3 separate regions of the Homo sapiens genome follow, and regions 2 and 3 are each linked to region 1. The links are contacts of gene promoters, found by promoter capture Hi-C in human tissues and cell types (Jung and others, 2019). All regions are on one chromosome and are shown on one strand. The core of a region is centred on a gene start or on the middle of the fragment in contact, and the rest is flanking DNA. Distances in the headings are between cores, read along the strand shown. Region 1 holds the start of MAP7D2 (MAP7 domain containing 2). Region 2 overlaps MAP7D2 (MAP7 domain containing 2). Region 3 overlaps RPS6KA3 (ribosomal protein S6 kinase A3).

What was found. The method cuts DNA at HindIII sites, captures the fragments that hold promoters and counts their contacts. A contact is called where the count stands out against the background at its distance.
Region 2: a fragment that was not itself captured here is called in contact with the fragment with the promoter of MAP7D2 in region 1 in 2 of the 25 tissues and cell types used here (bladder and lymphoblastoid cells).
Region 3: a fragment that was not itself captured here is called in contact with the fragment with the promoter of MAP7D2 in region 1 in 2 of the 25 tissues and cell types used here (IMR-90 fibroblasts and small bowel).

Annotation. Positions count from the first base shown.
Region 1 is chrX:20,114,428-20,119,271 of GRCh38, reverse strand. It overlaps MAP7D2 (MAP7 domain containing 2), which reads left to right and starts at 2,365. Exons shown (of 17, transcript NM_001168465.2): 1 at 2,365-2,522. The coding sequence starts at 2,393. The HindIII fragment of the contact is 9,946 bases long and covers 1-4,844 here.
Region 2 is chrX:20,006,371-20,011,214 of GRCh38, reverse strand. It overlaps MAP7D2 (MAP7 domain containing 2), which reads left to right. Exons shown (of 17, transcript NM_001168465.2): 16 at 163-438; 17 at 2,817-4,502. The coding sequence ends at 412. Among named protein-coding and RNA genes, the nearest start is that of MIR23C, 8.4 kb to the left of the region's middle. The HindIII fragment of the contact is 5,928 bases long and covers 1-4,844 here.
Region 3 is chrX:20,195,885-20,200,728 of GRCh38, reverse strand. All of the region lies in intron 4 of RPS6KA3 (ribosomal protein S6 kinase A3), which reads left to right. Among named protein-coding and RNA genes, the nearest start is that of EIF1AX, 56 kb to the right of the region's middle. The HindIII fragment of the contact is 6,331 bases long and covers 1-4,844 here.

The DNA.
Region 1 (4,844 bases), core at 1,116-3,615:
TTGTCATAAAAATTAAGGAAAATTTTACCAATCTTAAAAAGCTTAGTTGGCTAGGATAAAATATTTGCAACATTTAAACCAGAAATTATCTAGAATACAAGAAACTCCTGGAAATCAACCAGAGTAGCCCAGTGGAAAGGTGGGCAAGGATTGAACAGGGAATTTACAGAAGGGTAAACCAGATAGAATGGCTAATCATTTTGTGTAGATTGAGAACAATGCCAAGAGAGGAAAAACAAATAGAATGATAGCTTTTATGCAGTGTCATTTATATACAATTAAAATACATGCGTATCTTCAAAACAGTATTTCAAAATTGCAGCTGCAAAGATATCAGAGGAGGTGTTTATAATTAGGGAGAGGAATGGAAAGTAAAAGGACCCCAAAAATAGAATAAAAGTAGAGAGGGATGCTACACACACATGTCCATGAGCTCAAGAGTTGGATGAATTGAACTCACCAAAGGTCCCTAAGATAAGGGAGGAGAAAGTGACAGCTCCCACGCTCTTAATTTGGCTTAATCTCAATGTGTTCGAGTTTTCATTACAGCTCAGGGTACCAGCCCCCACCTGCTCACTTTCCTACTCATTTATGTTTAAACTTCCTGGCTTTCTCACCACACTTGAACCCTACTCCCGGCACACCTTTGGGCGTGTCAGGAACACGTTCATCACAAACATTTTTTGTGCCACAAAGGGACTTTCCCAGCTTTGGCCAAGAGTACAGGTGCCCATTCCTGAGAGTTTCAGCTTCACATTAAAAAAAAAAAAATGAGACATAATTAAGGGACCATAAAATTCACCCGCTTAAAATGTACAATTCAATAGTTTTTAGTATACTTAGTTGTGCACTCATCATAATCCTAGAATATTTTCATCCAAAAAAGAAAACCTGTACCCATTATTCAGCTTCATTTTTAATCGTGTATATCTCCCCCCAGGAGTGGTAATAAAACTTTCAGGCTGGTCACCTTCCAACGAGAAAAAACATGCAGCCTGGGGCTCCATGGGAACGGGTTATCACTTGGCAGGCCTGGGTAAACAAAAGGCTTGAGCCGGCCCTGCCAAGATGTCTTTTTCAATGTTTTTGAAAAGATAATAAATGTGCATGGCAGTGGTAAAAGTGCCTACTTAGGAGGCAACCCGTTTAGCAGTTTCTTGTGTGTCTTCTCGGAGAGATCCTCCTCAGAGGTTTTTTGTTTTATTTTGCTTTTGAGACAAGGTCTCTGTCGCCCAGGCTGGAGTGCAGTGGCGTGATCACTGCAGTCTCGACCTCCCGGGCTCAAGCGATCTTCCCGCCTCAGCCTCCCAAGTAGCTGGGACCACAGATGAGTCGCCATGCCCAGCTAATTTTTAAAATTTTTTTGTAGAGACGGGGGTCTCGAACTCCTTAGCTCAATCAATCCGCCCGCGTCAGCCTCCCGAAGTGTTGGGATTACAGGCGGGAGCCACCACACCCGGCATCGCGGAGGTTTCAGTCAGCATTATTTACGCCTCAGGAGAAGAGGAACCAAATTGGCTGCGGAGTAGGGTGTCGTTGAAAGGCCTAGGTCGGCCTACGGCGCGTGCCGCTGCCTCTTAGTTGAAGATCGACCCCAATAGCTTGCTGCTGTCCCTCTCTGGGTGACCGCACGCTGAGGGTGGGGCGTCACTAAACACTGATTACCCGTGCGCCTCGAAAACTGGAACCTAACTATGCATGGAGGGCGGGTCCTCTGGCGTCTGCACAGATGTCACTGGCCCAACTGGCACCCACCTGGGGGCCTAGCCAGAAATTGTTCCCAAGGCTGCATTGCTGAGTTTGCATGCAGACACCCAGTGAGTGTAAGCGTGTGCGTGCTGAGTGAGCACGTGTGTGCGCGTTATGTGCTCTGTGTTCACACATTGAGTGAGGATGTGTGTGCACGGTGTCTGAGAAACTGCACCCTACATCTACACACGCTTTGAGTGTGTATCTGCTACTGTGAGAAGATGCATTTACGCTGGGTGTGCACGTTGTGTGTGCATGTTGCATGTAAGCATCGTATGAAGAACTGTGTGCGTACGCACGCCTTCTGTGTGTGCACTGTGTACAGCAGCGTGTAAGGACGCGTGCACGCCCGTACGCGCTGTGTGAGGACTGTTGTGCACATTGCATGCACACGCTACAAGCGCGCGCCGCGTGAGAACCGGTGCGCCTATCGCACGTGCACGCCCTGCGTGCGCTGTGCGTGGAAGCGGTGCGCCTATCGCACGTGCACGCCTTGCGTGCGCTGTGCGTGGTAACCGGTGCGCTTATCGCACGTGCACGCCCTGCGCGCGTGCTGCGTGAGGACGCGTGCGCATGCGGACGCGCGCGGGTTCGGTGCGGCGCGGCGGGCTTGGCAGTGCGCCTGTGCGGCCGGCGCATCCCGATGGAGCGCGGCGGCGGCGGCTCCGGGACGGGATCCCGGCCTGAGGGGACTGCGCGGGGAACCTCTCTCCCAGGGAAGATCGCAGAACCGGGCGCGGTGCGGACCTCTCAGCCCAACTACCGGCCTCAAGGTATTATCCCCAGAGTGTGGCGGGCGCCCGAGGGCTTCGGGTTCCTGTGGGGGGGCGGGCCCGGCGGCCCAGGGCAAAGGTCCTCGAGCGTGGGGGGAAGGGGCACGGCGCAGAGCTGAGATAAACGCCCTTTCCCTGGCCCAGGATCGTCCGGACGTGCATCCAAGGGCCGCACCCCTCTCTGTGCGAGTGGCGGGGTTCTTTCTTGGGGCGACCTGGGTGAGTGGGTACACATGGGGGGTGGCTTAGGGTGGGCGGCAGGTGTGTTTGGGATGGAGGTGCCTGAGGGGGTGCTGCGGGTCCAGTCCCCGTCCTCGAGGAGCAGCCGGCATGGGGGTCGTTAGGATAAACCGAGCGGGGTTCTGGGGTTGCCCCGGCCTCCGCGCGCGCTCTCTCTGCGTTCTGGGAAACGCGCGCGAGCGCCGCTGCAGCCCGCGGCGAAGGTGGCCCAGCTTCGCGCCTCTTGGCGTTTCCAGGGGGCAAAATCGGCGTGTCACCCATTGGCAGAGGCAGATTCGCCCGGGCGGCCAGGCGTCTGCCCCGGACCGGGTGCTCCTCCCGCCCGGATGCGCTCCCTGTCTTGGGAACGCTGCTCAGGTGGCCGGGCCGCGGCCCTCAATCGAGGCAGCGGGGCAAACAAGGCTCTCAGCCCTCGAGGCTGCCGATGCTGGGAGCCATGGAGGGCTGGTCCCTGGCTGCCCAGAAGCCAGCGAGGCAGCGGAGGAGACTGTGAGGACATTTGGCAGGATTTTAGATAAGCAGGTCTGATGCTAACGTTCTGTAAAGTGGTTGCAGGTAGTGCGGGGGTGTAAGCAGCATGGAAACCGATTTCATGCTGTTTTTCCTGACAACAACTTTTTTATTTTTAGTTAATAAGGCAGGCTATTTTTAAAACATTTTTTATTGCAGTCTAATATGCATTTAAAAAACCACACAAAACTATAATTCGATGAATTATCACATAGTGAAGATGGGAGTATTTTATATACGATGGGCCAAGAAAAGGAAAGAAATCAAGAGAAATCTTCTTAAAACACGCTTTTTCACTGGGGTTGAGGGGGCGAGGTAGTATTTTCTGACTGGGCCTTCAGTTGCATCATTCTTAGGAGGAGGAGATAGCTTAAATCATTTCCAGTTTGTATTTTTCATTATGCTATTTTAAAGGCAGAATTCATTAACTGTCACAGGATAACGTTATAACTACCTTTGAAATGTGTGCTTTTGTTTTTATCCTTTTTGCTTGAAACACTCAAGCTGCATCTGCTAGGGAAGAACCTGGAAACTACCCACCAGAACGACCCTCCGTGGCAGAGGCGACCTTGTATAATAAAACACTGAAAAGGAGAGGTTGTTTCAGTTTGCATTTTTATTTGGTTGAGAGCTTAAATAATAGTTTGTTTCGATGTTCTGTTGTACTCATGAGAGGTGGGGAGGGGCGGTATGATTGGGTTTTCAGTGTATCTTGGATTTTATTTGAAGGAACTTAAGGGGTTTTTTTTTTTTTTTTTTTAATGGAAACAAAATTGGGGAAGGGGAGGAGGTACTTTTGCGGGGGAGATTCTTAATAAGTTCTGTTTGGAAACTATTGTAGAATCATTTAATGCACTCTTCTGATATTAAGATTAGCTTAAGGATATCTTCCTTCATTTGAAATTGGAAATATAGAAAAATATGTGTGAAGGTTTAAAATGTGAAATAAGCACCTATGTGCATTAAGGTTGGTATGGTAAAATTGGAATGTTTAATTTAGGTGCCAGGTGATACCACCATTTGTTGTTTGGGGGAGTTAGCAAGGCCAGGTACTTAAGTAAAGTCTCCTTAGAAAAATTATGATTTTGAGGTTTTATAATTATCTGTCCTGGATACTGATCATTCTTGGTTACCCAGGCCCTTAGCATTTGGGACCCATTCCTAATGAGACTTAACCTGCTTTTCTAGAGAGTCAACCATTGTTCCTAAGCTTGGGCTGGGTGCTGTCAAGGCTGCAAAATACAGAAAGACCTGAGATGTTTAGGCTGTCCAACAATTTTGTGTTGCACACTTAGGGGATATGAGTTGGCAAGTGGTTTTCCTGGGAGCTGTGTAAAAGACGGAAAGGAAATACCGCTGGTGGTTTCCTCTAGCAACAGGTTCTTCCGATATTGAAATCCTGTGCATGTTCCCATTACCCCCTAGTGATGCCTTCTTTCTTTCCTTTTAATTACCTCTGAATAGAAATTACCAGATCTACTGTCCATTTTAGTGCTTGTCTGATACACATAGTATAACAAATGAGCAAGTGCTTGTTTCAATCTGCTTAACAACCTTTAACCAGCAGATAGA
Region 2 (4,844 bases), core at 921-3,420, 110 kb after region 1:
CCCACTTGTATTTTTTACAGTGTGTTACACAAAAACTCTGACTCTAAATCCTTCTTCTTTAGAAGAGTAGTAAAACAAAATATTGCAAATAGAATTAATATATTGTGCCATGTTGTCTGTCTGTCTCTTTCTGCCTCTCTCCCTCTCGTTCATCTCTTCTAGTCCTGTTTCAAAAGAAGAGCTTATCTCTATCCCGGAATTTTCACCAGTGAGTGAAATGATTCCTGGGGTGTCTCTGGACCAAAATGGAACTGGTAATGCCCGAGCACTTCAAGATCTCTTAGATTTCACTGGTCCCCCGACATTCCCCAAGAGATCCAGTGAAAATCTCAGCCTGGACGACTGTAACAAAAACCTTATCGAAGGATTTAACAGTCCTGGCCAAGAAACTCCTCTCAACACCTTCTGTTGACAAATACAGCATCCCTTTAATAAAAGGTACAGTCTTTTGATTATATTCTAACTTCATAACCCTTTAACTGGGGTTTGTGAAGATAGGATGTATATCACTCAGCCTCTTGGATGGTCAAATTTTATTTGAAAAACGCAAACATGAATATATTATGGTATACTACAACACACACAAGAATTGAGACAGATTTCAATTAATTCATCTGCGAGCCTTCAGCGCCGAGCCGCCTTGTCCTAACCCTGCTATTTAGGGTGTGTAGATGGGAAAGTTGAGAACACTGGCTAAAGGTTTGACTACCAGTCCAGCCTGAGTAGCTTTTTTAGGGGGCAAGGAAAGAATACTCTAGTAGTGTTGCAAGGTGATATGAATAAGATGAATTTCCCCACCTCTAGTTTTGCTCAGTGACATCCCACATTCTATCTAGAATCATTCATATACAGGGCCACAGGATTTGCTATTCTCTTGACCCATTCTGGATTCTTCCAAAGCAGACAGCTATTCTTGGATCATACCTGAGGGAGAGAGAACTGCAGTTTTTGTGTCTTGAAGGTTTTTTCCCCACCTTTGGCCTTTTTTTATTTTTGCCAAAGTGCTTCCAGAAGCTATTCTCATTTGAGCAAGAATGTCTATGAGTTATATACACTCTGTAGTAAGGTATACTTAGTTACATATACCTCACATTTTATTTACTTCAGTTTGGGGCTTGTTTTTGAATAAGGAAAACATAATTAGAGTCTGTCACCAAATCCTTTAATAATTTAATAATTCCAATTGCTCCTCCCACTTCAGATTCTGTTTTTGTTTTCAAGAGAAGTGATCTCACTCTGTTGTCCAGGCTGGTGTGCAGTGGCGCAATCACAGCTCACTGAGACTTCAAACTCCTGGGCTCAGGAGATCCCCTTGCCTCAGCCTCCTGAGTAGTTGGATCATAGGCACATGCCACCAGGCCCAGCTAATTTTTTTTAGTTTTTGTAGAGGTTGGGTCTTGCTATGTTGCCCGGCTGGTCTTGAACCCCTGGCCTCAAGTGATCCTCTCTCCTTGGCCTCCCAAGTACTTACTGGGATTACAGCCATGAGCTACCATGCCTTGCATCCATTTATCCATTTTAGATTCTTTTTTTTTTTTTTTTTTTTTTTTTGAGATGGAATCTCACTCTGTCACCCAGGCTGGAGTGCAGTGGCATGATCTCCACTCACAGCCACTTCTACCTCCCAGGTTCAAGCCATTCTCCTGCCTCAGCCTCCCGAGTAGCTGGGACTACAGGTGCACGCCGCCATGCCTGGCTAATTTTTTGTATTTTAGTAGAGACAGGGTTTCACTGTGTTGCCCAAGCTGGTCTCGAACTCCTGAGCTCAGGTAATCTGCCTGCCTTGGCTTCCCAAAGTGCTAGGATTACAGGCGTGAGCCACCGCGCCCGGCCATTTTAGATTCTTAAAAGCATTTTTATATTCTCGGCATTTTCTCAGTCACTTTATTTTTTATACTTCACTCCCATAACAAATTCACTGGCCAAAATAACAGTCCAGTGTTTTTATTTTTCAAATGAGGAAACAGGTGGGAGAGGCTACAGAGCTGAGGTCACTGTGTTTTTTGTATACTTGTTTCTACCTGACCTCAGCTCTTGCCTATAAGACAAGTTTGAGAGCCCATTTCTCTTGGTTCTTGGTGTGTGGTGGGTCACTTTTAGAGTAAACTGTATCACTGGTTTGGAAAAGCAGCTGCCTTCTTGGACACTTAAAACACTAAATCACCTGAGCATTCTATTTCCCTGACAGTTACGTGGCTTAATATTTATTAAGAGGTTTTTTGTGTTTTTAACATACTTTGACTTTAAAATTAGTTTCCCTTCAGTTCACTTACCTCACTATACAGTAAGGAACAGAGAATCCACAAAATTTATTAGAGTATTCATAGGTCCTCAAATTTATTTCTTACATCTCTAAAAGAAATGCAAAACCCCTGTCCAAAAAGAAAAATCTCAAATTATTTTATTCACACTGCTTGTATATTTTTAATTATGATTGGGTCTAGTTCTCAAATTCTTCTCTACCAAAAGTGGTACCACCCCCACCAGGAGACGTTTGGACATACGTTGATGGTTTTTGTTGCCAGAGTGGCTGGGGGCATTTGAAAGACAAAGCTTGAGACATTAAATATCTGCAGGTTTTAGAAAAGTTCCATACAAGGAAAATTTGACCCATCTAAAAGAATAGTCCTATGTAAAATACTCTATCACTTCTGTTGAGAAATACTGTATAAGCCCAGGAGGAAAATATAATTGCCAAGAAGGTAGAAAGTGCCACAGTGTGTTGTGATCGTTTTAGTGAGAGAATAGTGCTACAAACTGCACAATACTTGGTTTTCCCTTTGATCTCATCTGGTTTTGTTTCTGAATTGACACAGGTGTTTGGAGAACCCGTAAAGCTGCTGATAGTCAAATCCGAGCTACTAGCTGCTTGAAGAAGCTTCTGTCACCCTTACCGCTGGATCCCAAATTATTAGCTCGGAATGTAACTGTATTCCTAGGTAGTATGTCAAACACTGGCCACTCTTGGTAGAAACCTTGAAACTTTCACCTTGCTGGGCTTTAGCAAAGTTTCCTTTTACAGTTCTGTTTATGAGCTTCAGCTACTGATAAAGCACTTCCTGAACTTCTCTATTATCATAGTGACCCTCTGAATAACCTGAGTGACTGGCTCGGCAATTCGCTTTATAACCATTCTTATTCCCAAAGTTGGAGCACATAAACATTTAGATGTCTTTTCCTGTAAAATATTCTAGACATTTACCCAAACTCTAGTTCAACATATACTCAACTTGCACTGTATATCTCCCTGTCTTTTTTGAGACAGAGAAGAAATTCAGGAGGTTCCCCATCTCCAGAGTTTCTCTGTTGGAAAGCAGTATCAAGAAGCCTTTAAAAAATTGTTGTTAAGCTTTGCCACCTGCAGAAATGCATTGCCCCACATTATTCTTCTGGGGTTAAAGTAGTAAGTTTGGTTGAGGAAGGAAGTCAAAACAGTCAGTAATGATTTCTGTTCTCTTATGCATATTCGTGTATACATGGGCAACTGAATCTAGCAAGGACTCTTTCGTGTCACACCTTAAAATCTTCATGCTGTAGTCACTCCAGACCATGGAGTGGCTTTCCAGCTGAATGAATCCTATGTCTCGCGTGCAGGTGGTTGGTTTTCAATGTTCTTGCTAATTTTTTTTCTATTGGATCTTGGGAGTTTTCTTTGTTTGCTCCTGTGTTTGCCCAGCTTTAATAAAACCAGGCGCAAACAAAAACCATAGCATTCTGAAACAATAGGGGGCCCACATTGGACCCAGTATGTCACTTTAATGGACTTCAAGAAAAAATCTGAATGGGAAAAATGACACTAGAATGTATACTCCACACATTTTATGCCATATAATGGTGTGTTTTCTTAATTTTGTTTCTTGTGGCGAAATGTGGCTTTCAAATTAAAATGACCTTTTCTTCTTTGAAACTTTTTGTTTTGACTTGTATAATTAAGGGTTTGGAAAGATTCATAATTCTGAGAGAGGTTTGCAACCAGGAGATACAAAGAAGTCTCAGTAGTAATCTTGTTCATGTGCTTTTACAGCCAGCTACATTTAAGAATGTATTAGTTACAGAAATTATATGTCTGTGTATGTGTCTCTACTCAATAAAGTACATGCCTCCACATAATGCGGTGCTGTCCATCTCGGCAAATACTGGCCAAGTCCCTTTATGACAGGCACACAGAAACCATAGCATGGTCTGGCTTTCAGAAAATGCCTCTCATCTTTCCTGGAACCTTATTTTGCTAAATGTCTGTTTTCTTGTGATTTGTTGTACCTCACAGCACCATTGTGACCATGGTGATGCCTCATTTGCATGATATGTACCTTGTGTTTAATGTGAAATACATTTTCATTGAAGAGTCTGATGACTTGCTAGCGTTTTATTTTTTCTGTAAGCTCAATGTGCTGAAACCAAACCAGGCTTTTAAAAACCTGTGTAGAAGAAAACCAAAAAATCCTGTGTGGGTGTCCTTTCCCTGTCAAACTCATTAAAAATTCCTTTGTTGCCAGTGCCAAGTGGAGTCAACTGCATAAAGCTTCTTAAGTGATGACTGTCACTAGAACACAATGGACTTCTGAGTATAGTAAAAAAAAAGTTGCTGTTCTTTCCTTTTTTTTTTTTTTTGGAGAGACAAGGTCTCACCATGTTGCTGAAGCTGGTCTCCTAGGCTCAAGTGATCAATCCTCCTGCCTCAGCCTCCCAAAGTTCTGGAATTATAGGCATGAGCCACGACGCCCAGCCAAGTTCCTGTACTTTCATACCACTGGTGTGAGGGCTTTCTAGCTAAGATACAGTTAACCTTACCATAATCTATGATAACATTGCACATAGCAATTTGGCATTTAAATAAAGTTATA
Region 3 (4,844 bases), core at 1,800-4,299, 81 kb before region 1:
GTAGAGGGAGATCTGTCCCTAAAAAAAATTTTTTTTAATAAGGAAAAATAGAGAAACGTTATAAAATTATGGTTTACCACTTAATAGGATATTATTAAAATAAAGTATCTTAAATAAAATTACAAAAATGAATGTAGTGAAAATTAGAACAAATTGAGCTACAAGTATGTAAAATTGTATAGATATTAGCTATAAAAGAGATGATAGAAAAGTGAAAATATTTGACTTATTGGAATTTTAAACTGCTGAATAATTGTGAATGTGTTCTTAAATTTTTATGTTTATCAAAAGAATATCTGTAGAGTCTTATCATATAACATAGCTATGCTTTGCCCACTCTTCTGCCTATCCTAATTCTTGAACCCCAGAGACAATGACTTTCATCTCTTTAGCTGCTGCCATTTACATTTATATTCAACACTTTTATATTGCAATTGTTTGTTTTCATTTGGAGACATAATCTATTGCCTTTCTAACATGGAAGACTAAGATTCAGTTCTCTCATGCTGCCACCCACTCACAGTTTCCCTTTTCACATCTTCCCAATAATGTTTTCATTGTTACAGCTTTATAAGAATTGTTCCTAGCTGAACGAAATAGTATACTACAGTCACATTTCCTTCACTTCTTTTCTGTATTCAGTCTCTTTTCATAAATTCTGTGCCTACCTTTTTCTCAGTTTACTTTTTAGTTTTGATGGAACTCATCTTCTCATAGCTACCTCAGAATGAGTAAATGGATACTAAATTTTTTGTGACCCTCCATGTCTGGAAATGGCTTTATTCTACCGCCTGTCACTTAGTTTATAATTTGGCTGAGTATAAAATTCTAGGTCAGAAAGAATTTTCTACCAGATATTTGAAGGTATTGCTTCCATTGTCTTCTAGTTTCCTGTGTTACAGTGATGAAGTTAATTGCTGGTCTCACTCCCAGTCCTTTGTGTGTAAGCTGCTTTTCCTCTTTGGGAGTCTTTAGAATCTACTCTTTATTCCTGGTGTTCTGAAATTTATATAGTGGTATTCTTGAGTGTGGGTTTCTAAAACTATATCATATGATATATGAGGTGTGGTCTCTTTCAACCTAAAAACTCCTTTCTTCAGTCTTGGGAAAGTTTTTGTCATTTATTCTACATTTGTAAGTGCTGCTCTTTGGAATATGTTAGTTAAACCTCCTGAATTGTTCCTTAATTTTCTTTATTTTTCCATCTTTTATTTTCCATTTTTTCTATTTTCTGTGAAATTTCTTCAACCATCTTCCAACTCTTCTATTGACCTTTTTGTTTCTGCCATCGCTTTTCATTTCCTAGATTTTCTTGTTCTCTGATTATTTCATTAAAACATTTTTCAATTATGGAAAGTGTCAAACATTTAAGAAAGAGACAGAAGAATATAGTGAACCCCCTGTACCCTTCTCCCTGCTTCAACATTTATCAACTCATGGCCAACCTTTTTTCATCAGTGTTCTCCTTCTTCTTCTCTTGATATTTTGAATGAAATCCCAGACACTATAGAATTTCTTTCATAAATATTTTAGTATATATCTCTAAAAGATAGACTCCTGGCTGGGTACGGTGGCTCACGCCTGTAATCCCAGCACTTTGGGAGGCCGAGGCGGGTGGATCATGAGGTCAGGAGTTTGAGACCAGCCTGGCCAACATGGTGAAACCCCGTCTCTACTAAAAATACAAAAATTAGCTGGGTGTGGTGGCGGGCACCTGTAATCTCAGCTACTCAGGAGCCTGAGACAGGAGAATCGTTTGAACCCAGGAGGCGGAGGTTGCAGTGAGTCGAGATTACATCAGTGCACTCCAGCCTGGGCGACGGGGCAAGACTCCATCTCAAAAAAAAGATAGACTCCTAAAAGAGATAATTCAACTGTATTATCATACCTTAAAAATGAGCATAAAGATATCCAGTCTTTGTTCAAATTGCTAGTTGTCCCTACTATTAAAATTTATGTTTCTTTATGCAGTCTGTTTAAATTAGGATCCATACATATAAGGTCTCAACTTTGCAATTGGTTGATAATGTTTTTAAGTCTTTTCATCTATGAACTCTTTCTTCATTTCTTATCTTTTCCTTGTAGTTTATTTGTTGCGGATACTTGTTCCTTCCTCCACCCCACCACCCTTTTTAAACAAGAACAAGAAGCTTTAAAAAGGGTGAGGTGCCATATTATCTTTGCTCCCTCAGTGGACATAAATTACAAGATTGAGTTGTGTTGTGTGGTGTTTAAGTTATCTTCTGTTCCTCACATTGTCTCTGTTTCCCTTTATTCCATTTTTCTGTTTATTTTGATGTTTTTCATGTTTAGAGCCTTTCTCCAAATGCCTGGGGGTCTTTTGCTATCTTTTCTTTAAGAGTCGGGTGCTAGAAAGCTGATTGGAAAGATTTCAATGACAAGAATTTGCTTATTTTTCATTGGCTTCTTTTCCTTAGGCTTAGATTTTTAGCTTTCTCTGGTCTGCTTTGTTAGTTACCACTTGCACATCTTCTACTATTGCTTCCTGTCCTTGTGAGTTTATGCAGTTTTTCCATTATTGTCATTTCCATGGGGTTTTGGAAGAATGTAGAGAGTAAAATATCCATGTTTAACCAGAAGTCTCTTCCCATTTTAAAGTTCCTGTTAATACGATAAATGGGGTCAAATACAAGTCAATAACATTAGATAAAGTTAATGGGGACTTCTGTCCTATTAAAGTGGTCTGTTTGTCTAAAAGGTTCTGTAAACTGCTTAAAAAGGTTTCTTAATGCATAGTCCTAGGAACATAAACAACATTTCTTCATTCTCAGGTTCAGTCAAGTAGGGCTTAAATCTAATAACTACTCTAGAAGAAAAAATATTTCAGAGGAATCTAGTTGCTTTGCCAGCATGAGTCAGTATTAACCAATTCTATGTTGGGATTAGAAGTTGGCCTATATAAAACATGCCTTCTTCTGAATTAGTATATACTAATTAAAATTCCTCATGGTAGGATGATTTAGAATTGTCACTAGGTCTTTACATAAGCAAAAGAAACGAGATTAGAATTATGACACAGGCCTACCTCAGACAAAATGAAGGAATTCTTTAGAGAAGGACTCTCACTGCTCATTTTCAGTTAAACAAGGTCTCATCAATGTTACATATAAGGAAATGTTGAAGAGAAAACTGTCTCACAAAAAAATCATCTTGGTTCTAATCCTTCATTTTATAGAGGAGGAAACAGGAAATCCCTGAGCAATGAAATGATTTGACCAAGGTAGTTATGAGTTCATCTAGTTATTAGTATAGCCACTAAACTGTAGTTCTTGACTCCCAAATAATTGTTCTTTTCATTGTGGTAAAATAAGACAAGAGGGATATACAGTGCATTTATTAGTGGATATTTTTGATGCTTACTGAGCAGACGAGGTATTTTTAAGTGATAAGCCTTGTATACTTATTGAAAGAGGTAGGACTTTGGAATCCACCTTTAAGGTGATAGGAACTAATCCAAAATTGTATGGTAATAATGAGAAAAGGACAGATTTAGGCTAGACTAGAATAGAAATATCAGCAGGTATTGGTGATGAACTTCACTCACATAAAAAGTACAAAGGGCATATCAGGCTGGGCGTGGTGGCCCGTGCCTGTAATCCCAGCACTTGGGGAGGCCAAGGCAGGCGGATCACCTGAGGTCAGGAGTTAGAGACCAGCCTGGCCAACATGGTGAAACCCCGTCTCTACCACAAATACAAAAATTAGCCAGGTATGGTAGCACAAGCCTGTAATCCCAGCTGCTCGGGAAGCTGAGGCAGAAGAATAACTTGAACCCTGGAGAGGGAGGTTGCAGCGAGCCGAGGTCACACCACTGCACTCCAGCCAGGGCGACAGCGATATCCTATCTCAAAAAAAAGGGGGCATATCAGATATAACAAGGAAAATACCAGAGTTGTAGCGATCGGGCAAGGTAATGAAATCAGAGATTGCTATTGAATTTGATATACTAACTGGACAGGTCAGTTAAAAGAGCTGCGTAGACATCAAGAGCAATTGATTCCTATTTCTGATTTGCCCATTTTCAGTCAGTGGTATGAAAATCTCCCAGTTGGGGATAGAAAACTGGTAGAATGGAAAAAATAGGGCATTTTTTAGCTGCTTTGTTTATTTTCCCCAGAGGTCTTATTTCTATATTTTAAATATCTGCAGTCACCCTAAACTGAAAATAAAACCAACTCAACTTTCTCCCTCCTCCAAAGATTGTCCTATTCTTTCCATTTTCATGTTTCATATAACCATTCAGAGTACTTAGAATGTATTATAATCATTTATTTACCTGTCTGTCCTTCCCACTAGATCATGAGCTTCTTGAAGATTATCTTATTTGTATGTATATCCCTAGTGCATTGCACATACACTTTGCTCAGGAAATATTTGGTTGCTGAAAAAGAGCTTTGCTCACAGGGTCAAATATAAATTCATCTTGGCATTCCAACTTCTCAAGAATCTGGATCCTCCCCATTTCGCCTTGGCGCAGTAGTAAATCTCATTTGGTTCCTTCCTGTTTGTCATTCATGCCTTCACATCTTTGCTTACACTGGGTACTCCATGCTTGGACTCTTGTTTTCTAGGGCCTATCCTTCCTACCCATCTAAATGCCACTCCAAAAGTCTTAAAGCTTGCTCCCTGACCCTACATCTTTCTTCTAGCCTTCCTATGCAAGTAAGACTGATCTTGCCCTTCTCTGAATCCTGCAGTACTCATTGCTGGTAGTAAATTGTTTTATCCCTTAATCATATTCATGGTGCTACTTTGCATATAATAACAATAGCTACTATTTAATTGAATATCTCATACATACCAGGCTCTAGGTACATACCTTA